7 separate regions of the Homo sapiens genome follow, and all the other regions are linked to region 1. The links are contacts of gene promoters, found by promoter capture Hi-C in blood cells and fetal thymus (Javierre and others, 2016). All regions are on one chromosome and are shown on one strand. The core of a region is centred on a gene start or on the middle of the fragment in contact, and the rest is flanking DNA. Distances in the headings are between cores, read along the strand shown.

The links. Contacts are between HindIII fragments. The CHiCAGO score rates a contact against its expected background, and 5 or more counts as called.
Region 2: a fragment that was not itself captured here is called in contact with the fragment with the promoter of STAMBP in region 1 in 8 of 17 cell types (non-activated CD4 T cells, activated CD4 T cells, total CD4 T cells and 5 more); the score reaches 7.8 in non-activated CD4 T cells.
Region 3: a contact is called between a fragment that was not itself captured here and the fragment with the promoter of STAMBP in region 1, in 1 of 17 cell types (fetal thymus). The highest score is 7.1, in fetal thymus.
Region 4: a fragment that was not itself captured here is called in contact with the fragment with the promoter of STAMBP in region 1 in 1 of 17 cell types (naive CD8 T cells); the score reaches 5.4 in naive CD8 T cells.
Region 5: a contact is called between a fragment that was not itself captured here and the fragment with the promoter of STAMBP in region 1, in 12 of 17 cell types (non-activated CD4 T cells, total CD8 T cells, total B cells and 9 more). The highest score is 10.2, in non-activated CD4 T cells.
Region 6: a fragment that was not itself captured here is called in contact with the fragment with the promoter of STAMBP in region 1 in 10 of 17 cell types (naive CD8 T cells, total B cells, non-activated CD4 T cells and 7 more); the score reaches 9.4 in naive CD8 T cells.
Region 7: a contact is called between a fragment that was not itself captured here and the fragment with the promoter of STAMBP in region 1, in 1 of 17 cell types (total B cells). The highest score is 5.4, in total B cells.

The regions. Positions count from the first base shown.
Region 1 is chr2:73,827,377-73,830,517 of GRCh38, forward strand. It overlaps STAMBP (STAM binding protein), which reads left to right and starts at 1,585. Exons shown (of 10, transcript NM_213622.4): 1 at 1,585-2,134. It overlaps LOC105374807 (a long non-coding RNA gene), which reads right to left and starts at 3,022. Exons shown (of 3, transcript XR_940246.3): 1 at 2,940-3,022; 2 at 1,381-1,528. RefSeq lists a silencer at 1,356-1,574 and an enhancer at 3,082-3,141. The HindIII fragment of the contact is 5,447 bases long and covers 724-3,141 here.
Region 2 is chr2:74,475,929-74,479,069 of GRCh38, forward strand. The region is part of intron 5 of CCDC142 (coiled-coil domain containing 142); the gene reads right to left. Among named protein-coding and RNA genes, the nearest start is that of MRPL53, 4.8 kb to the left of the region's middle. The HindIII fragment of the contact is 6,387 bases long and covers 1-3,141 here.
Region 3 is chr2:74,449,846-74,452,986 of GRCh38, forward strand. No RefSeq gene overlaps it. Among named protein-coding and RNA genes, the nearest start is that of INO80B-WBP1, 3.6 kb to the right of the region's middle. The HindIII fragment of the contact is 1,613 bases long and covers 801-2,413 here.
Region 4 is chr2:74,432,672-74,435,812 of GRCh38, forward strand. All of the region lies in intron 1 of RTKN (rhotekin), which reads right to left. Among named protein-coding and RNA genes, the nearest start is that of RTKN, 7.7 kb to the right of the region's middle. The HindIII fragment of the contact is 2,783 bases long and covers 169-2,951 here.
Region 5 is chr2:74,410,996-74,414,136 of GRCh38, forward strand. No RefSeq gene overlaps it. Among named protein-coding and RNA genes, the nearest start is that of C2orf81, 9.1 kb to the right of the region's middle. The HindIII fragment of the contact is 6,860 bases long and covers 1-3,141 here.
Region 6 is chr2:74,369,259-74,372,399 of GRCh38, forward strand. It overlaps DCTN1 (dynactin subunit 1), which reads right to left. Exons shown (of 32, transcript NM_004082.5): 8 at 2,279-2,470; 9 at 1,721-1,918; 10 at 1,363-1,567; 11 at 1,208-1,286; 12 at 928-1,087; 13 at 707-811; 14 at 42-233. Among named protein-coding and RNA genes, the nearest start is that of DCTN1, 9.5 kb to the right of the region's middle. The HindIII fragment of the contact is 6,181 bases long and covers 1-3,141 here.
Region 7 is chr2:74,347,240-74,350,380 of GRCh38, forward strand. It overlaps the pseudogene NECAP1P2. Among named protein-coding and RNA genes, the nearest start is that of SLC4A5, 5.4 kb to the left of the region's middle. The HindIII fragment of the contact is 7,558 bases long and covers 1-3,141 here.

The sequences.
Region 1 (3,141 bases), core at 335-2,834:
CCCTACCCCACCAGCTGTACTTCTACCTGTGCTTCCACCATTAGAGTATCCACCTGCTGGGTTTGTTTGCTGATGTATCCCTAACACCTAGAACAGAACCTGGCACATAGTAGACACTCAGTAAACATTTACTGAGTGAGAGGTTGAATGGATCAGATTTTGACCTGTGTTGCCTCCTGCCAGGACCCCATCTGCACTATAATGCCCACCCAATGACCAGCATCTCCAGTGCATCAATTTCTTTAGGCCCAACCCATCATGTTTACATTCTGAAGAGAGTCAGTAGAGAGAGTTTTGAAGACACAGTAGAGTGCCCTATACAATTATCTTCCCAGATTTATCTGCAGTAGATCCATGAGAGTTGATAGTAGACCCATGCACATTAATGCTTGCTGGGGGCAGAAGGGGAGGTGATATGATGCAAGCAAGTACTTTCAACCCTAAGTCTGAAAAGTTGATGACTACACAAAATCACTTCAGGTAACTCCAACAGAAATATACACAACGGAGGTTGGGAGAAATGAGAGATCTGGAGGCTGGCTAGGTGGAGGAGGCAACACCTGAATTAGGGATTTAAGCTAGACCTTGAAGAATAGGTCATGCCATCACACTAACAAACTCACAGGGAGGCTCCCAAATTTTGGGAAAGTGTCCCCCAGAGACTTAGACTTTTAAACCAAAGCCTAATGTTTCACAAAGTCTTCTGAGACAGAATGATTAGCAAGCTTGTAGGACCTTTTTGTAAAGAGGATGTATATGGATTCGTACAGACACACATCTACATGCAGAACGTGCCATTCTGTATTTGATGCATAAAACCACCTTGTCCCGGTCTCAGGGCAGGAACAGTGTCATACAGATTTTTGTGTCTCCACTGCTTTTGCATAGCGGCTCTTAGAGATTAAACGCTTTTTTTCCAAATATTTTATAGGTTTTTTGACATTAAAACGTTAGTCTCATCTGGGTGCGGTGGCACACGCCAGTAATCCCAGTACTTTGGGAGGCAGAGGCAAGAAGATCGCTTGAGCCCTGAAGTTGGAGACCACAGTGAGCTATGATCACACCACTGCACTCCTGTGACAGCCTGGGTGACACCGCAAGACCCTGTCTTAAAAAAAAAAAAAGTTAGACTTATGTTCTTTTCTAAGCAATAAAATTAGTCTTAGATATTGCCTAATATCTAAGACTACCAATTTTTGTGTAGAATGTAATACAAGCTAAAAAATACATTCGAAAGACTTTCTGTCCCCCAATTTATAAATCCTGGTTAGTTTAGCTAAGTCTGCAGTTGTGCTGGGATCAGCAATCCCTCCTTAAATGCAGGAGTATTGTGAGTGTGATGAGGGACTACCCCAAATCAAAATAATTTTAAAAGCAAACCTTAGCTTGCTAATTGGTTCCACTTTCTTCCTTGTTCCTTTTCCTTTACCAAGATGGCCGCTGTGTCGTTCGCTCCTCATTGGTCGGATTTTCCGCAGGTGCCGATTCTAGCCCCACCTACTAGCTCTCCGTTCCAAGTCCTAAATCACTGGGAATGTAATAGACAGACGAACGGGAGTGGGCGGAGCGGGCGCCGGATGTGACGTTTCCGGAACCTCCGGGTGTCATCCGCGGGGAAAGGTGGGGAAGGGTCCCGGGAACGTGGTGGGGCAGGGCCTCCGAGCGTGGTTGGACTTTGAAGGGGATCGGCCGCCGTGAGTGTGGGGCCTGCAGCCTACTCTCCCCGAGTCCCCTGCCCGGCCTGCCTCGCTCGAGGCACCCGACGGCTTCTGTCTCCGCGGGCTGGCGCCTGACCAGCCAGGCCCAGCGGTTCCCCGCCTACTGCATTTGAAAGATCCCGAAAACCCTGGATGATTGTGCCTGGGGTTGGCAAGTTCGTCTTGAGTGCCTTCAAGAAGGGTTCCTCAAGCAGTTGTCGATAGAGCCCTCCCTACTGTATACGCCCCCTCCGCTCATTCCTGCTACTTCCTTTCTCCTCCTCGTATTTCCCCCTCGGTCCTTTACGCCGCCTTTCCCCCTCATTTGCAGATGCTGCATCCCCTTTTTGGAATTGCTCAACCAGGTGGTAACCGGCGCCGCTTCCTGGCCTTGGGAGGTGGTTCCTTTCTTAACCCACAAGAACCTCTCCCAAGAGGTACTGAGATGCAACAAGCATCCTCTGTTTCAGTTAACTTTCATGGGCCGTGGACTAGGTTTACTAATTACTTGGGGAGGTTTTAGATATGCTTGCGGCTTTCTGAGTCCCTAAGGAGGCCTCGTGAGAGATGGACTATCTCTGCATCCCTAGTAGTCCTCACGGCTTTTGTGCTATTAGTGAGGGTGTTTTAGAGGGGAAGGTTTGTGGAGGAATTGTGACCCGAATATTGAAGAGACCTAAAGATGGAATTGGCTGAGAGAAGACTACCCCTGAGGGAAGAGTTGTAGTAGAAAAGAAAAACTGGATAGATAAATGAAACTGAAATGTGAGGATGCCTGGGCGGATTGGAATCCTGACTGAAGCAAAAGATCTCTGTTGGGGAGGGCCAGTTGCCACAGGGCCTTGAATTCCAAGATTTATTCTACTGTAGTTTGTGTATTCTAGAGCATACTGATTAGGGTTTGCTGTAATGCAATGTGTGTCAAATGCCCAGTTTTATTTTGGAGATGATAGTGGTGATATCTGGTTGGAATTTGGAATCTGATTCTAACAGCAACTATATCTAGAAAGACTAGAATTACTGGAGTTTTGGGACACCAGGGGTTTTTGCAATGCAAGTTACCATCGTGCCTTTTTGTTATTCAGTGTTTAGTCTATGAAGATGAGTAAATGGTTGTTTTCAAGATTTAAGTCTCTTGCCATGATAATGATGAATGAATGATTTTATAGATTGACTATAGTGGTTTAGTGAGCAGAGTTACAATTATGAGCATTAATTCCCAGACCAGTTCCCCTAACTCACCTTGTGCTCAAATATGAAAAAGGATACCACAGAAAATGTCAGTTACTCTCAGATTAAGTAAAAATGGTCAACCTTGAAGTTAGTTAACAATCCTCAAGAAAGTTCACTGAGTGCACTCTGCCAGGTACTGGGGTGGAGGTATGTGGGTATCTGGAAGGAGAAATAATAGAAAATAAAAGATGCTGTTCCCACTTTTACAGTG
Region 2 (3,141 bases), core at 459-2,958, 650 kb after region 1:
CTAGGATTACCTTGCTCTCCCCAGCTTGGTTCAAAAGATGGAAAATCCTTGAGGTTAATTTTACTATACAAGAGCTTTAAGGAAAAAGAAAGACATACCCTGCCCCCACCCCCGCAACACACACACACACACACACACACACACACACACACACACACACACACACACACACACAGAGCATATGCCAGAAAGAGGGATTGTATGATCTGCAATGGGCAGAAATTGAGGGAAGAAAGGGGAATTACAACGACCTTTTATTTTTGAGGCAGAGTCTTGCTGTGTCGCCCAGACTGGAGTGCAGTGGCGTGATCTCGGCTCACTGCAACCTCTGCCTCCCGGGTTCAAGTGATTCTCCTGCCTCAGGCTCCCAAGTAGGTGGGACTACAGGAGTGCACCACCACACCCAGCTAATTTTTGTATTTTTAGTAAAGACAAGGTTTTGCCATGTTGGTCAGGCTGGTCTCAAACTCCTGATCTCAGGTGATCGGCCTGCCTCTGCCTGCCAAAGTGCTGGGATTACAGATGTGAGCCACTAAGCCACTACACCCAGCCTACAATGATCTTTTGGTTATCACCTACAAAAGGAAGACAAGAACTGTATGTAAACCAGAAGCAATGACTATTTGAATGTTCTGAGACTCAGGAAGTTTTGGAATGTCCTTACATTGAAAGGCATTATTATATATTATTATTCTTCACAGCCCACTCCAGAGCAATATAACCCATAAAGCAAGAAAAGGCCTATATGCTGGGTTTGTTTCTTTGGTTTGATAGGTTGTTTTTGGAGGGAGAGAACACAGCAATAAAGCTGGTTTCTGCTCTACAGCCCATCTTGAGGGAGAGGAACCCCAGTAAATGTGGTTAATGGCAGCTGCTCTGTAAAGAAATGGTAGATGCCAGGGAGCCTGAAGACAGGATAGACCTGGGGGCGGCCAGACATGGAGTGGAGCCCATATGGCTCCTGGCACATCTGACAACCTGTCTAAATCCAAAATCTTCCTCTCTTCTCCAGTAAATGCAAGCCCCCTTCTCCTCCCTTATTTATGTCAAGGAAATTGCCCTTTTGTCAACGGACTTTTGTTAGGAGCCTCTGTACTCAACACTGAGGGAATACAAGGTGCAGAGTGTGTGACAGTCTCTCCCCCACCCACTGGGATCTTATAGTCCAAACAGGAAGAAAACTCACAATGCCTCTTTTTTTTTTTTTGAGACCAAGTTTCGCTCTTATTGCCCAGGCTGGAGTGCAGTTGCGCAATCTCAGATCACTGCAACCTCTGCCTCCTGGGTTCAACCGATTCTCATGCCTCAGCCTCTGAGCAGCTGGGATTACAGGCACCCGTCACCATGCCTGGCTAATTTTTGTATTTTTAGTAGAGATGGGGTTTTACCATGTTGGCCAGGCTGGTCACAAACTCCTGACCTCAAGTTATCCACCCATCTCGGCCTCCCGAAATGCTGGGATTACACCCTTCTGCTCTTAAAATGTCACCCCCTCACTTATGAGGTAAAGCGCAAATTGTTGGGGCTGGTGTTCATGCCCTCCACAATTTGATGCCAAATTGCTTACTACCCTACCCCACACCCAACCCCAGTGAACATACCCACAAAAGGAACCTCTGCTCTGGTAAGGCCACCTCTCTGCTACCCCCACAAGGATCTACAAACTGCCCACTTCCAGTAACCCCAGCCACTCCTCTGAGGCTTCCCAGCCACCATCTCCAGCCATAGGCCATGTATGGAGCGTTCTTTAACCACATGCCCACTATAGCCTTCCTTCCTCAGGGCTCTATGACCGTCACTGTGTGCAGTACTCATGATGAGCCTGCTCTGGGGCATGTTGAGTTTAAGTAGACAGCAGTAAACTGAGGTAGAAATGCCCAACAGGCAAATGCAGATGTTTAACTAGAACTCTGGGAGCCAGGCTGGGTGTGGAGGCTCATGCCTGTAATCCCAGAACTTTGGGAGGCCAAGGCGGTGGATTGCTTGAGCTCAAGAGTTCAAGAACAGGGCACATGTTCTCAGATCTCCTGAGGGCTATGTCACGAGCCAAACTTCTAATTAAAAAAAAAATATATATATATATAAATAGATATAATATAAATAAAATATATATAGATATAATATAAATAAAATATATATATATACTTTTTTTTTTTTGAGTCTCACTCTGTTGCCCAGGCTGGAATGCAATGGCACGCTCTCGACTCACTGGAACCTCCGCCTCCCGGATTCAAGTGATTCTCCTGCCTCAGCCTCCCGAGTAGCTGGGATTACAGGTGTACACCACAATGTCCAGCTAATTTTTGTATTTTTAGAAGAGACAGGGTTTCACCATGTTGGCCAGGCCGGTCTTGATCTCCTAACCTCAGATGATCCACCTGCCTCGGTTTCCCAAAGTGCTGGGATTACAGGTGTGAGCCACTGCACCTGGACAAAAAATTTTTTTGTTTTCTGTTTTTTTTTTGAGACAGAATTTTTGTTCTTGTTGCCCAGGCTGGAGTGCAATGGCGCTATCTCGGCTCACTGCAACTTCCGCCTCCTAGGTTCAAGCGATTCTCCTGCCTCAGCCTCAGAAGTAGCTAGGATTACAGGCACCTGCCACCATACCGGCTACTTTTTTGTATTTTTAGTAGAGACGGGGTTTCACCACGTTGGGCAGGCTGGTCTTGAACTCCTGACCTCAGGCGATCCACCCACCTTGGCCTCCCAAAAAAGTTTTTTAAAAAGATTTTTAAAAAGGGTTCAAGACCAGCCTGGGCAACATGGCAAAACCTTGTCTCTACAAAAAAAAAAATTTTTTTAAGTAGCTGGGCATTGGCCGGGTGTGGTGGCTCACACCTATAATCCCAGCACTTTGGGAGGCTGAGGTGGGTGGATCACCTGAGGTCAAGGGTTCCAGACCAGCCTGGCCAACATGGTGAAACCCATCTCTACTAAAAATACAAAAACTAGCTGGGCGTGGTGGCAGGCGCCTGTAATCCCAGCCACTCAGGAGGCTGAGGCAGGAGAATCACTTGAACCTGAGAGGTGGAGGTTGCAGTGAGTAGAGATCACGCCACTGCACTCCAGCCTGGGTGACAGAGTGAGACACCTTCTCAAAAAAAAAAAAAAAAAAAGTAGCTGGGCATTGTGGCTTCCACC
Region 3 (3,141 bases), core at 357-2,856, 620 kb after region 1:
ATTTGTCAAGGTCATGAAAGACCGGGTAAAAGTGAAGAAATGTTCCAGATTAAAACAGATTAAAGAGACTTAATTTAAAAATGTAATAAATGATCCTAAATTTGGATCCTGGATAAAAACAAAAAGGAGGACCAGGCACAGTGGCTCACGCCTTTAATCCCAGCACTTTGGGAGGCCGAGGTGGGTAGATCATGTTGGGAGTTCGAGACCAGCCTGACCAACAAGGAGAAACCCCATCTCTACTAAAAATACAAAATTAGCGCATGCCTGTAATCCCAGCTACTTGGGAGGCTGAGGCAGTAGAATTGCTTGAACTCGCAAGGCGGAGGTTGCGGTGAGCGGAGATTGCACCATTGCACTCCAGCCTGGGCAACAAGAGCAAAACTACGTCTCAAAAAAAAAAAAAAAAAAAACGAGGCCAGGCGCGGTGGCTCATGCCTGTGATCTCAGCGCTTTGGGAGGCTGAGGCAGGTGGATCACAAGGTCAGGAGTTCAAGACCAGCCTGGCCAACACGGTGAAACCTCATCTGTACTAAAAATACAAAAATTAGCTAGGGGTGGTAGTAGGAGCCTGTAATTCCAGCTACTTAGGAGACTGAGGCAGAGAATTGCTTGATCCCAGGAGGTGGAGGTTGCAGTGAGCCGAGATTGTGCCACTGCACTCCAGCCTGGGCAACAGAGCAAGGCTCCGTGTCAAAAAAAAGAAAAGAAAAAGGAGGTATTTCACAGTTGGTGAAATTTGAATGGGGTCTGGATTAATGATGTATCAGGTTAATTTCCTGATTGGGACAGTTGCACAAAGCTTATAGAAAACTGTGCTTGTTTGAGGGAAGTACACACTGCATGATTTAGGGGTGAAATGACATCATGTCTGCAACTTGCTATCATGTTGATCAGAAAAAGAATAATGATGTAAACCAAAAATAAAATTCTGAGTCCCCCAACCATGTTGGGCCATTCCATGTTAACCTGAAAAACTAGTATGGGCCATGATGGGAAAGGGGGAGCTGGACATGCCTTGTTATACCCTCCTCCCTTTTGCAATTACTGATATAACAGACTCTTTAAGTCTGATAAGAAACATTTACAGTGTATTCTCTGTGAAGTTGGCTACCTGGATGCTTCACTTGAATGATAAAATCTTGGTCTCCACAACCCCTTATCTCAACCAGACATTCCTTTCTATTGATTCCAAGTCTCTAGACAATAATTTAACGCTTTTTTTTTCTTTTTTTGAGATGGAGTTTTGCTCTTTTTGCCCAGGCTGGAGTCCAATGGCTCGATGTCAGCTCACGGCAAACTCTGCCTCCTGGGTTCAAGCAATTCTCTTGTCTCAGCCTCTCTAGTAGCTGGGGTTACAGGTATGTGCCACCATGTCCAGCTAATTTTTGTATTTTTAGTTGAGATGGGGTTTCACCATGTTGGCCAGGCTGGTCTCAAACTCCTGGCCTCAGGTGATCCACCCGCCTCGGCCTCCCAAAGTGCTGGGATTAGAGGTGTGAGCCACCACAGCCAGCCAATAATTTAACTCTTTCAACCAATTGCCAATCAGAAAACCTTTGCATCTACACAATACCTGGAAGCCCCCATCTTCCAGTTGTCCTGCCTTTCCAGACCAAACCAACGTACATCTTACATGTATTGATTGATGTCTTATGTCTCCCTAAAATGTATAAAATCAAGTTGTAGTCAGACCACTTTGGGCACATGTTCTCAGGATCTCTTGAGGGGTGTGTCACAGGCCATTGGTCACTCATATTTGGCTCTGAATAAATCTCTTCAAATATTTTAGAGTTTGACTCTTTTCACTGACAATGATAATGGGCATAAACACAGATAAATATTAACAATTTCAGAATCTCGCCGGGCGCGGTGGCTCACACCTGTAATCCCAGCACTTTGGGAGGCTGAGGCGGGCATATCACAAGGTCAGGAGATCAAGACCATCTGGGGTAACACAGTGAAACCTTGTCTCTACTAAAAATACAAAAAATTAGCCAGGCGTGGTAGAGGGCGCCTGTAGTCCCAGCTACTCGGGAGGCTGAGGCAAGAGAATGGCGTGAACCTGGGAGGCAGAGCTTGCAGTGAGCCGAGATCGCACCACGACACTCCAGCCTGGGTGACAGAGCGAGACTCCGTCTCAAAAAAAAAAAAAAAAAAAATTTCAGAATCTGCCCCACCCGCCAACCATGTCGGGCATTCCATGTTAACCTGAAACACATGGAATGTTTAAGGAGATAAGAAAGTTTTGGCCCGGCACTGTGACTCACACCTGTAATCCCAGCACTTTGGGAGGCTGAGGCAGAAGGATCGTTTGAGCTCAGGAGTTTGAGACCAGCCTGGGCAACATGGCCAAACCTTGTCCCTACAAAAAAAAAAAAAAAAAAAAAAAAAAAAAAAAAAGAATTAGCTAAGCTTGGTGGTGTGTAGCTGTAGTCCCAGCTACTTGGGAGGCTGAGGTGGGAGGATCACTCAAGCCTGGGAGTTTGAGGCTGCAGTGAGCCGTGTTTGCGCCACTGCATTCCAGCCTGGGAGACAGAGCTAGACCCTGTCTCAAAAACAAAACGAAACAAAAACTTTATTAGAGAGAGTTCTTTGTATTCATCTTGCAATTTTTCTGTTTGAAGTTATTTCAAAATAATTTTTTAAAATACGACTAAGAAGTCTTTCAGAAAGAAGAGTGCCTCTCAGCCTACAAACATGCTCAAATCTCTCTCACTCTAAACAAAGCAAAACTAAAAACAAACAAAATAATGAAGCCAGTTGTCACTTACTGTTGCCACTTCCTCCCTGCTGGGCATCATGATGCAGAGGAAACACCACTGGGCCAGGTGTCAGGAAGCCTCTGTTTGAGTCTGGCTCTGCCACTCCCTAACTTTGTGACTTTGGCAAAAACATTTCTTTTTCTGAGCCTCAGTTTCCTCATTTATAAGATGGAAACAATGGTATCTCCCTTATGGAGATGCTGTGGGGGCCAAGGGAGAGAAGGAATATATAGGCAGGTTATAAACTCTAACGTATTCTACAAATATGAATTGCAAGTGATCCCTCACTGTAACTCCTGGTGATAAAAGAGTATTGCCTTCACACTGTGATAAAATCCATCCTCTTCTTGGAGCTCAGCCTACCCTCTGAAGGACT
Region 4 (3,141 bases), core at 310-2,809, 610 kb after region 1:
CAGGGTTGGGGGAAGGGTGAGAAGGAAATGTCAGTCAGTGGACAGGCTAAAGCACTCCCCAGTCCCCAGGTGGGCTGTGGCCAGTAAAACTGACAAGAAACTAATGTTTTAGGCAGTTCAAGAGCAGGCATTGGGTCTCAATCTCAGCTGCCCACGAATAACCAGAGAAGCTTTGTAGCCAGGTGCAGTGGTGTGTGAGGGAGGCTGAGGTGGGAGGATCCCTTGAGCCTAGGAGATCAAGGCCAGCCTGGGCAACATAGTGAGACCCCACCTCTAAAAAAATATATAACAGCCGGGCACGGTGGCTCACGCCTGTAATCCCAGCACTTTGGGAGGCAGAGGCAGGCGGATCACAAGGCCAGGAGATCGAGACCATCCCGGCTAACACGGTGAAACCCCGTCTCTACTAAAAATACAAAAAATTAGCAGGGCGTGGTGGCGGGCGCCTGTAGTCCCAGCTACTTGGGAGGCTGAGGCAGGAGAATGGCATGAACCCGGGAGGCGGAGCTTGCAGTGAGCCGAGACTGCACCACTGCACCCCAGCCTGGACGACAGAGCAAGACTCTGGCTCAAAAAAAAAAAAAACATATATATATATATATAAAACAAATAAGAAAAATAGAGATGCCCTCATGCATTTGATGGTTGGAAGTATAAATTCCTTCAGCCTCTTTTGAGTGCAATTTGGAAAAAAATCTATGAAAACTACAAATTCATATATCCTTTAATTCAGCTATCCAATACCTAGCAGTTTATCTTACACATATAATTTCACATATATCTAGGTAAAGCCATACATACAAAAATATTCAGTGCGGCATTTTTTTTTTTTTTTGAGACGGAGTCTCGCTCTGTTGCCCAAGCTGGAGTGCAGTGGTACGATCTCAGTTCACTGCAAGCTCCACCTCCTGGGGTTCATGCCATTCTCCTGCCTCAGCCTCCCAAGTAGCTGGGACTACAGGCGCCCGCCACCACATCCGGCTAATTGTTTTTTTGTATTTTTAGTAGAGACGGGGTTTCACAGTGTTAACCGGGATGGTCTCGATCTCCTGACCTTGTGATCCGCCCACCTCGGCCTCCCAAAGTGCTGGGATTACAGGCGTGAGCCACCGCGCCCGGCCTCATTGTGGCATTGTTTTAAACACCAAAATTAAAACCCCTTCAGTAGGACATTGGTTAAATAAGTAACAGTACATCTGTACCCTGTAGTATTGCAGACATTAAGGAAAGAGATATGCACATGTATGCAGATATGAAACAATCTCCAAAATAAATGATGTGAGAAAAGAAGGGTAGTATTGCACATACTACCATTTGTGCATGATATATATATATGTATGCATGCATATATATACATAGATATAGATATGCATGTTTATGCATAAAATATTAGTGATTGTAGGCCTGGGAGCCAGGGATGGAAAACATTTATGATACTTTTTTTTTTTTGAGACCGAGTCTCACTCTGTCACCCAAGCTGGAGTACAGTGGCGCGATCTCAGCTCACTGCAACTTCCACCTTCCAGGTTCAAGTGATTCTTGTGCCTCAGCCTCCTGAGTAGCTGAGATTACAGGCATGTGCCACCACGCCCGAGTAAGTTTTGTATTCTTTTTTTTTTTTTTTTTTGAGACCGAGTCTTACTCTGTTGCCCAGGCTGGAGTGAAGTGGCATGATCTCGGCTCACTGCAAACTCCGCCTCCCAGGTTCAAGCAATTCTTCTGCCTAGCCTCCGGAGTAGCTGGGATTACAGGTGTGAGCCACCACACCCAGCTAATTTTTGTATTTTTAGTAGAGACGGGGTTGCACCATGTTGGCCAGGCTGGTCTCAAACTCCCGACCTCAGGTGATCCACCCGCCTTGGCCTCCCAAAGTGCTGGGATTGCAGGTGTGAGACACCATGCCTGGCCTAACTTTTGTATTCTTAGTAGAGACAGGGTTTCGCCATGTTGGCCAGACTAGTCTCGAACTCCTGGCCTCAAGTGATCCTCCCACCTCGGCCTCCCAAAGTGCGGGATTACAGGCTTGAGCCACTGCGCCCAGCCTAATGATACTTTATATATACCCTTTGTACTACTGGAAATTGTATTTCCTTTAAAAAATATTAGATCTTTGGAGTTTAAAAAAAAATGATCAGGCCCTACCTAAGATTTGCAGAATAAGAATCTCTAGGAGTGGGGCATATGTACTTTTGGAAAACTCCCCAAGTGATTCTGAGGTACACCCAGGTTGAGAACCACCAACTCATGGGAATGGACAGAAGGAAAGGCAAATGAGAGTTATCCCTCAGACTCAAGTGATGCCAGGGACATCTAGTTGGCAAGGGATCAGTGGACAAGGAGCATACCACCTACAGTGTTCACTGACGCTGCACAGAAACCTATACACCCCAAATTAAGAGAATCACCACCTACCGGCCCTCTGAGCTTGGGAGATGAGGTCAGAGGCAAGGAATGGGGATGGGAAGGTAGGTGGTCCAGGAATGAGGGACTGTGGATAAGGGCCAGCTGAGAGGCCCTGGAAGAGACACCAGGATTCTCAGGAACATTCATTTAGAAAGGAGCCCTGGAGGTCCTGCTTCTTAAAAAGCAATGGGCAATTTGCTCAACCTCCCTAAGCCTCAGTTTCCCCATCTGTAAATCAGGAATGGAAATAGTCCTAGGGCTGTGAGAATTCTGTGAGGCAGGAACTTAAAGCACTTAGCACAGTGCCCAGCATGTGGTATACATTAATGGCAGGGATGCTTATTTTAATGACGCTATACTTTGGTGGTAGCAGCATTTACTCAGTCAACACTGGAGCATCCCTGTACTGTCCAAGGTTGTACATTTAAAATCCAGCTGGGAGGTGAGAGATGATGACTTTAATGGCTGCTCCATAAGTGCCATGTCATGGCACAACCATGCTCACAAGAAACAGCCTCTGTTTGCTTCTGGCTGAGGTGATCAAGGAAAGCTTCAGAGAGGAGTTGGAAGACTAACTCTATCACAGTGTACAGATTGGTTCAGGAGACAAGTCGAGCCATCCATTTGAAACAGGGGAACTAATGTGACCACTCCAAACCTGTCTTTTTCCTCACACCAGCTCTCCTCCATACACTGTGCCCTTGCATCTGTCCCTAGTGGCTCCAGCCTTCAAGTCTC
Region 5 (3,141 bases), core at 642-3,141, 580 kb after region 1:
GGAGCCCCATAAATAGGGGTGACTGGGGGAGGTGAAGGTTGGGGAAAGATCCACAGCAGAGGTGATATCTGTGCTGCGTCTTGGCAGGTGAACTAAAGTTAGCCAGGCCAACATGATGAGAAAGGATATTCCAGATAGAAGGAACCGTATGTGCAAAAACACAGCCAGAGGGTGAAAAAAAACAGACCGTGGTCCAAGAGCTGCAGATTGTCTGGCTGGAGACTAGGAGGTGGGTTAAGGAAGGGCAAAAGGCAAGGCTCTTAGTCAGCAGAGGGTTTTTTTTTTTTTTTTGAGACAGAGTTTCACTCTTGTTGCCCAGGCTGGAGTGCAATGGCGCGGTCTTGGCTCACTGAAACCTCCACCTCTCGGGTTCAAGCAATTCTCCTGCCTCAGCCTCCCGAGTAGCTAGGATTACAGGCATGCACCACCACGCCCAGCTAATTTTGTATTTTTAGTAGAGACGGGGTTTCTCCATGTTGATCAGGCCGGTCTCAAACTCCCAACCTCAGGTGATTTGCCCACCTCAGCCTCTCAAAGTGCTGGGATTACAGGCATGAGCTACTGCACCCAGCCTAGCACACAGCCTTCTAAGTGTAGAGAAGGGGCTTAGAGTTCATCCTACAAAGGAGAGGTTACCTTCAAAGGATTTTAAGCAAGAAAGTGTCATGATGAAAGGTGATTACTCGATGTGGCAGTGGGGAGAATAGATTAGAGAAGATGAGACAGGAAAGAAGTTTAAGAAACTGTCACTAAGCAAGATGCAGATAGTGTCGTGACATGTTACAATTTGTGGAAAGGGACAAAAACAATCATACTTGCAGGTGCATAGAGTTTTGCCTTTGTTCACTTTCCAATTGGGATTAATTTAGTTGACTGCTAAAGGATACGTGAGACTCCGGCAACAGTAGTTGCCTCTCAGGAGGGGAACAGGTGGCTTATGTACCAGAAGAGAAAAATAGTTTAAAAAAAAAAACCCTCTGTATCCTTTTGTACACTTTCAATTTTGTACTTTGGATATGTATTACCTGACCAAAAGAAAAATTGCTTTTCTTTTAAGGAGGCTATCACATTGCAAGGGGATGAGTAATTAAAAAATAATAATAATAATAAAGGGGCTATTATACAATCTAGGAGAAAATGTCAGAGAGAATGTTCCTGCCACCCACTCCCCGAAACTTTCCCTGGAGGAGCCAAACTTTCTCAATCAGAAAGGGCCTCTTCAAAGGACTTAGGCCCAAGGCAGTAATGTATCAACTGTATCATCTGTATGGCCTACACCTCTGGCCGACCCTGAGAACAGAAACTGAGTCTTCTTGCTTTCTCTGTTTCTGGTGCCTAGTGTCCCCCTCAAGAAGCCTTCATTGCAAAAACTACTCTACTGGTCTGGCTAGAACTAGGGGATGGGAGAAGGAGGTCTGGGATCTCATATCCCCTTGCTGATTATATTTTGGGCTGAATGATTCTTCTATCAGCCTTCTAATACTGACTTGTGCCAGCTGGGCTTCCCTGATGTGTGACACAAAAAGTGTGTTGGGTCACCACTCAGCAAACAGCTGGGTGCCAAGAGGCAAGAGGTGGTCCTGGGAGACAGTTACTAGAATGCCAGGGGTATAGGGAAGAGGGCAGCACAGAAGGTGCCCATCCTTCCTTACCTTGGAGTAGATTTGTGAGCAGAAAGGGCCCAACATAGTTAGTGACAAAGGTGAGATCCAGGCCCCCTGGGGTAAGTGTCTTCGGAATCCTGGGAGGAAATGAAAACACTGGCATTGAGTGATAAAGGGACCACCTTGAGGGAGACAAGGTCTGGGAGGGACATATTACCTTCAGCAGAAATGCCACAGGGGCACATACATGTGAAGATGGGGGCAATGAAGTTTAAGGCTATAACTCAATGTCAGCTTTTTAGGGGAGGGTATGGATTAGTGTTTTGGCAAGATTGCATAGACTAGGCTTTGAGGATACCTGTTTTAGAGTTCCTGAGCTAGAAAGGAGACTGCAGAAACATGTTTGGAGAAGCAAGCCAGGCACATACCACTGACTCCAGCATTGTTTACCAGCAGATGTATCTCAGGATTCTCCTGTAGAAGCCTCCGGGCAAAGCTCCGAATAGAGGTCATGGAGCTAAGGTCCACCTCGCCAAGCAGGAGGCGGTTGCTGTTTGAGGCTGCTTGGATCTCAGCCAGGGCTTGCTGTCCACATTCCCTGCTCTGACAAGTAAGGATCACTTGGGCCCCACACCGAGCTAGGTCCTGGGATACAACCTTCCCGATGCCTGTGGGAGGACAACTTCGGCTGGGTGGTGACTACAGTGAACAAGGGACACTCTAGGGGAGGGACAAGGGTGTTGATAGTGGATGCTCCTCCCTGCCTTCCCTGTGAGAGTTGTTGGAGGCTGAGGCCCATAGTGAGGATTCAGGGTGGGAGGAGCACTCACCACTGTTGGCCCCAGTCACTATGGCTATTTTCCCAGTCAGATCTGTGGAGCAGCACTGGAGGTCCCAGGGATGAGACTTCTGCCAGAGCTGCACATGTAGTTGAAGAAGACCAGAATAAGGAAGACAGAGCCAGCGCCCCAGACCAGGATGCTGAGTGCAGCCCACAGCAACATAGCAGAAACTTCCTGGGCCTGCTGGGGAAATGCTGTAGGAGGAAGTGGGTGCAGGATAAATCTGGGCAGAGTGGAGACTAGCAATGAGGCAGGTGTGGAGCCTAAGATAAAATTTAAGGAGGCACTGACTCTTGAGTTTGTTCAATATACTGTTTGAGTTTGAGAGTTCCTCCTTAACTTCAAAAGTGAAATTTGGATTTGCAGTCTAAGGTGAAGTGACCAAGCTCCAGGGACCAGGGAAGCAAGAAATCAAGTTCTTCATATCTCGAATCACTCTGTGCTTATGCGGGGCCTTCTCCTTCCTCCCCTACTGAAAGGAGACTCGAAGTTCTCTCTACAGAGCCAGACCCGCTGGCAGCCCTTATGTCTACTCCTTTGGGGGACAGGGGTTTCTCTAGAATGCCTCTGCAATGGGGCAGCTTTGGCCCTAATGCAGGGTCTCCTAAGGGTGGCGAGAGGGTTATTTCCTGAACCCTGGTTCTATCTTCTTCTAGGCCTGCAGGATAACTGCTCCCCTTGGGGTTCAGTGAGAG
Region 6 (3,141 bases), core at 234-2,733, 540 kb after region 1:
CTGGGGTGATGGTGGGCAGAGAGCAAACAGTGGGCATGTACCTGTAGATGGGCGGTCAGCTGGCGGTACTTCTTGATGGTCTGCTGGTAGTCTGCAACCGTCTCCTGGGCTGCCTCCACACGCTTCTGGGCCTCACGAACCCGCGCGCCTGCCATGTCCAGCTGCTCCCGCAGCTCCAGTTCTGTCTCACGTGCATTCTCCTGCAGCTCATCGTTCATCTCATTCATCGCTTCCTAGGACACCACACCATAGTTTGGGCTAAAGAAAGGCAGGGTCGGCCAGCGGCGGTGGTTCACACCTGTAATCCCAGCACTTTGGGAGGTCAAAGCAGGCGGATCATGAGGTCGAGATCGAGATCATGCTGGCCAACATGGTGAAACCCCATCTCTACTAAAAATACAAAAATTAGCTGGGTATGGTGGCGCATGCCTGTAGTACCAGCTACTCGGGAGGCTGAGGCAGGAGAATCGCTTGAACCTGGGAGGCGGAGGTTGCAGTGAGCCGAGATTATTGCGCCACTGCGCTCCAGCCTGGCAACAGAGCGAGATTCCATCTCAGAAAAAAAAAAAAAAAAAAAAGGCAGGGTCAGGGTAGCAAGCCCAGGCTGGGTCCCTCACCGCACACCCTGCTCAAAGGCCAAGGGTCACATGTCAATCTTTTTCTCAGCAGGTCCAAGTCAGATGTCAGGGGTCTGCTCTTCTCTTACCAAGTCTCCCACAGTCTCCCTCAACTCGCGCACTTTCTCTTCCAGATTCAGGTTCCGATCTGTCAGCATCTCCACCATCTCCTCAGCACCCAGAGCAGCATCCACCTGTGTTACGGGGAGGATAGGGAGAAGGGCTGCTGGAAGGTACCTAGAAAGAGGAGGCATCAACTGATAGGAGAGTCAGGTGGGGGATTCTGGGTGAGGGGCTGGGCTCCCCAGACCTGCTCCTTGAGCTCATCAATGGTGCTCTCTGCCTGGCTTAGCTCCTCCTGCAGACGCTCCCGCTGTTGCCTCACAACTTCCAGCTCTTGGTTCTTCTTTTCCATGAGCTTCTGGAGCTTCACATGCTCCTGCTTCTCTGAGGAAGAAAGATCCCGCATCCTGCAGGGATGTGAGGAAGGCAGAAGGAGGAAAGCACGTGTCAGAGTCTCTGGCGATGGGTGCTCTAACACATTTGGAGACACAAGAGTAAGCATCAGAGGCAAGCACTGAAGACCCTACCTCACCAGGGCATCCTTCAGGCGGGCATTCTGCTCCTCAAGCTGCTTGAGCTGATAACTGGATGCAGCGCCATCTGAGCCTGGAGAAGATCATTAACACTTTCAGGCATGGTTCTCACCTGACCGTTTGGCCCCCAGCAGCTGTGGGCCCCTTACCCTTCTCTTCAATCTCAGCCTTGAGGATCTCTAAGTCAGTAGTGAGCTCGTCCACCCGCTCCTTCAGTGCCTCCACCTCCTGCTGCAGGGACTCAGCCCGCTCTTCAGCCATCTCCTTGTCCAAAGTGGCCATCTCAATGGCATCAGCAGTATCAGCCATCTCCTCCATATAGCGTTCCTTTGCCTCCAGCGCCTCCTTGGCTTCCTGAGGAAGAAGTGGAGGTGGGAGGGGGTACCAGCACAGAGATGCCCCAGGCCTTTCTCACAGTATGTTCCAGGCTCCAGCTCCAGTCTAGTTTCCAGCATGCTTCCTTAGGTCTCAGGCTGCCCCAGCCACCCCCTTCATCCAGAGTCAAACCTTTCTCGCCTCCTTGAGGCGCCGCTGCAGGTCGGCCTGCTGCTCCTGCATTTTGCTCTTCCATTCCTGCACCTGCTCCAGCTGGATTTTGTGTTTCTCCAGCTCTTTTAGCTTTGCTTTGTCTTCTGCCCGTTTCAGTCTCAGGGTCTCTAGTTTCTCCTCCAGGTCCCGCACCTGAGCCCTTAGTCCCTCCTCCTCCTGCAAAGGAGAGGCCTCACGGTCTGTGCACAGCCCACTCCTCCTCTCCACCAACACTGAGCTGGCGCAAAGAACACAAGAAAGTGTGCAAACATCACCCAGCCCCAGGGTGGCCAACAGTCAGTGGCATAAGAACATCTGAGAGGAAACCGTAGCACAGTATATATGGGGAAAGTATGGCATAAGGGCAAGAAAGGAAAGGATGGCTCAGTCAGTAGCAAGATATCCATAGGCTATGTCCTCACCCTTTCTGATCCAAGTTCTAGGTCTTTGCCAACCCCAGGAAATTTTCAAGACACAGCGGGTAGCCACAAGCCTCTGGGTGTCTTGATTCTCCTTTACCCCTACCCCAGGCCTTACCTTGGATGGGGAAGGAAGCGGGGGGACTGCTCCAGGAGAGGTGAGGACCGGCGTGGGGATGATGGGTGCTGCCAGCGGAGTCTGAGCCGGGGTGCTGGGCTCACTGCTGCTCAGCTCACCTGCTGACGCTGAGCCAGAGGGGCCCAGGGAGCTACTGGCCCCAGCCACCCCAGTACTGGCTGGGCGCGTGGGCTATTCAGAAAGGGTAGAGGCAGACCAGAAAGAAAGCAGAGGATAGGGGTAGTAAGAGGAACAGAAACAGAATATGAGAATATGGCAAGGGAAGGAGACAGAAAAGGGAAAAAGCAGAAAGAGAGTATCAAAGCACAGTGAGAAAAGAAGAATGAAGGGGACAAGGAAAATGATACAGAGAGGCAGAGAGAGATAGTGACAAAGGACAGGGGGAGGATGGAGGCAGAGGAGAGAGGGAGGAAAAGATAAGAGAAAGACATAAGATTATAAGGCTCCTCGCTTGGCACTGACTCCACATTCCTCCTAGCTCTGGCACTACCCTTAAGAGCAGAATCCGTTATTCCCTAGAACCCCCATCTATGACCCACTTGTGATCATTCTAGCAACTCCATTATACTCTCAGTCCCATCCTTGCTCCAGGTCTATGCCCTCCACCCCTAGACGGAAAAAGTACAATCTAATTTCCACAGAAGGTTGGGCCAAAAGTGGGGGTGCCAGGCTCTCTACCCCTGCTAAGCCCTCTTTGGGAGTCAAGCTGAATCTCCCTCTCTCAGTCTATTTCAGAGGACCCTGCAGGTAAAAGGGCCAAGGTGAAAGTTGTACCCCTAGACTCCCCCTTGAAACAACTCTTCGTCATCTCCCCCGATCTGGCAACACTATCCATGCCCCTG
Region 7 (3,141 bases), core at 382-2,881, 520 kb after region 1:
ATCCCTCAAACCACTGTGTTCTGATTTCTGCTCCTTACTGGTCACAGACATTTCTGTGGCAAAGCTCATCATCAAACTTCTAATTGCCAAGTGGACAATTAGACAGTGGACACTTTTCAGATCTTTGCTTGATAGACCTCTCTATTACATCTGGTGTTATTGACAATTCTTTCCTCTTTTTTTTTTCCTGTTTGTTTTGCTTGGTATATTTTACAACTTGTGGGCCATTCAGTATGTGCATATTTATCTTTGTTAAATACGGCCACATTGTTTTCCAGAGTGGCTGTAGCACTTCACACACCTACTAGCAGTGTGTGTGTCTAACTGGATTATTTAAGGATAAGAGTTGGGAGATCTGGGATGCTCTGGTTTTCTGCCCCCAGGGATGTGCTCACTGTCCCCTTTGTGCTGTCACCCTACAGATCTCTCTCCTGTGAGCTTGAGTCCTGCTGCTGGCCTAAGTCAACCCCACCACTATCACTACCAACTGCCAACACAAACCAAGAGACAGCTTTAAAGACTAACCTTCCCAAAACCCTGTTTTTGCATTTTGTTCCCTGTTCCAGAATTGCCAGTAGCTTCCCAATGCAGTCAAATACAGTCTGAACTCCTTGGATTGGCACTAATGGTGTTCTCCTGCCTGGCTTTCTCATTCCTTGCCAGCCTTATTTCTCTCCCTGCTACACCCTCCTCCCCAAAGGGGCAGACTGGAATCCCGCCAAGGGGACCTATCCTGCTGATGAGGCTGTAAACCAGTACAGCCACTCTGCAAAAACAATGTGGCAATATTTAATAAAGATGAAAATACTCATAAGGAATGACGAAGCAATTTAACTCCTTACAGAAACTTTTGCATATGCGTGCCAAAGCACATGAACAAGGGAGGATATTTATATAGCATGGTTTGGAGGTACCTGAACTCGGAAGCAACCCAAATGTCCACTGGTAGTGGAATGGGTATGTTCTGGTCTCTTCACCCTTCTTCACTCCCCTTGCCTCCTCACTGAACTTACACAGCATGTTAATTTTTCAGATAACATGTCTTCATTTAAAACAGGAGCCCAACTACCTACTTTCCAAAATAGAGAGCATTTTTTTTCCACTGAAAAATGAATTTCCAATATCACTATGTTAATATGTATAAAAACTGGACAGGTGCAGTGGCTCACGCCTGTAATCCCAGCACTTTGGGAGGCCAAGGCGGGTGGATCACAAGGTCAGGAGTTCAAGATCAGTCTGGCCAACATAGTGAAACCCCATCTCTACTAAAAATACAAAAAATTAGCCGGGGGTGGTGGTTGTGAGCCTGTAACCCAGCTACTTGGGAGGCTGAGGCAGGAGAATCACCTGAACCTGGGAGGCGGAGGTTGCAGTGAGCCGAGATTGCGTCATTGCACTCCAGCCTAGGCGACAGTGCGAGATTCTGTCTCAAAAAAAAAAAAGTATAAAAATTTTGTAAAATGGTGTGGTCATGTTTTATCATTTGTTAATCTAAGTGTTTCTTTTTGCGTTTTTAAAAATTCACTTCTTAAAATGTGTGTTTACATTTTTTTAAATTTAAATATATATCTAGGTTTTCAGTTCTATGTTGTCAAATGCATAGTCTATCCTTTGCTTTTTGCTTTTTACAAAGGAATACCAAGATGAGTTACAAGTGATTTATCTCAGATTTTGTTCACTGAGGCTTAGAGTTTACTCCATGAGTTCATGAGGGTTCAGTTCCACCTATTGTTCCTTGCTCAATTGTTTGAGTAGGTCCTGATTACCTGCCAGATGGCCAGTCCTGGGCTGATCTTTTCTACAAAGATCAGAAGGGTCTCTTCTGGCAAGGCAAGCCTGGCTTGTACTCTCTGTGGAAACTTAACTAGCCATGGCTGCAGCTAGAGGGCCCAGCCAAGGATCTTTCCAAATCAAGTGTCTTTGGCTGTCAAATATGTAGGTAACTAAAACTCCAATCTCTGAGGGAGGACAGTCTGCCCTATCTGAATTCCCTTGTCTTCTAGAAAGGGTCAAATAGTAGTCTAAGCACTCAGGGAGAGTGAACACTTTTCTCCTTGTGTCTCTGTCAAGGGCAGGGAACACTAAACCATTAGTAATAACGTAGTCTTTAAAGTACATTAAATCAGCTAAGTTAACTGTTTAACCATAAGTTCAACACTCCTTTTTTTTTCTTTTTTGCATTCCATCTGTTATGCAAAAACCCCAATTTTTGATTGATATGAAATGAAAACATAGAAATAACAGGCATGCCATACCATCAAGAGACCAACCACTACCTCATCCAATATTTCACCCCTCTCCACTCCAATTGTTTTGATCTCTTTCAATGGGTGACTTCACAGAATTGAGATGCTAGGTCTCACCAAGATGGTGACTTTTATGGCCAGCTTCTCTGGGATGAGTAGGAATTACCATTTCCTACAATTCCCAGATGATGCTGATGCTGTTAGTCAGAAAATCACTGCTCTAAACCCAACTAATAATTTACAGAAAATGGAGAAGACAGAGGAACTTATTAACACCATGAGGATGCATTTTAAGAAAATCCAGATTCTGAGAAATAGTTCTTTCAACAAATAAATTATAAGGAAAAATCAAGCAAGAACGAACCTAGACTGCCTGTGAATGGCCACTGCATTCCAGCCTTGGCAACATAGCAAAGCCCTTCTCTGAAAGAGAGAAAGAGATGATGATGAGAAGGAGGAGGAGATGTTTCTAAGCAAGAGACTGGACTGGAGGCCTCAATTTACTCCCAACGTCATCTGGAGGTCACAAAGGGCAGAGAGCCAAGATGGCAGCCCAAGGCACGGTACAAGCCTATCTTAGCTGGTGTCAATGTCTACTAGATTCTGCCCCAGGCCTCCAACAATGGCTACAGGCTGGAATGTGGACCAGCCTGCTTAGTCTTCAAAAGGGAAGACTGCCTATGTCAACTCAAGTATAAAATATCAGGAGAGCTCTTTGCTCGGGCACCAGTAGAACAATACGCTGACACTGCTGAGACAGTGAAAGATTACAGCTTCTACTTTGTAATGTGGTTCTAGGATGACACTGAGCAGGTATAGTGCTTTCATCGGCATTGGCTTCACAGATGAGGGTGATGCCTTTGACTTTGATAACTTCTGAAAAAGCACCTTAAAT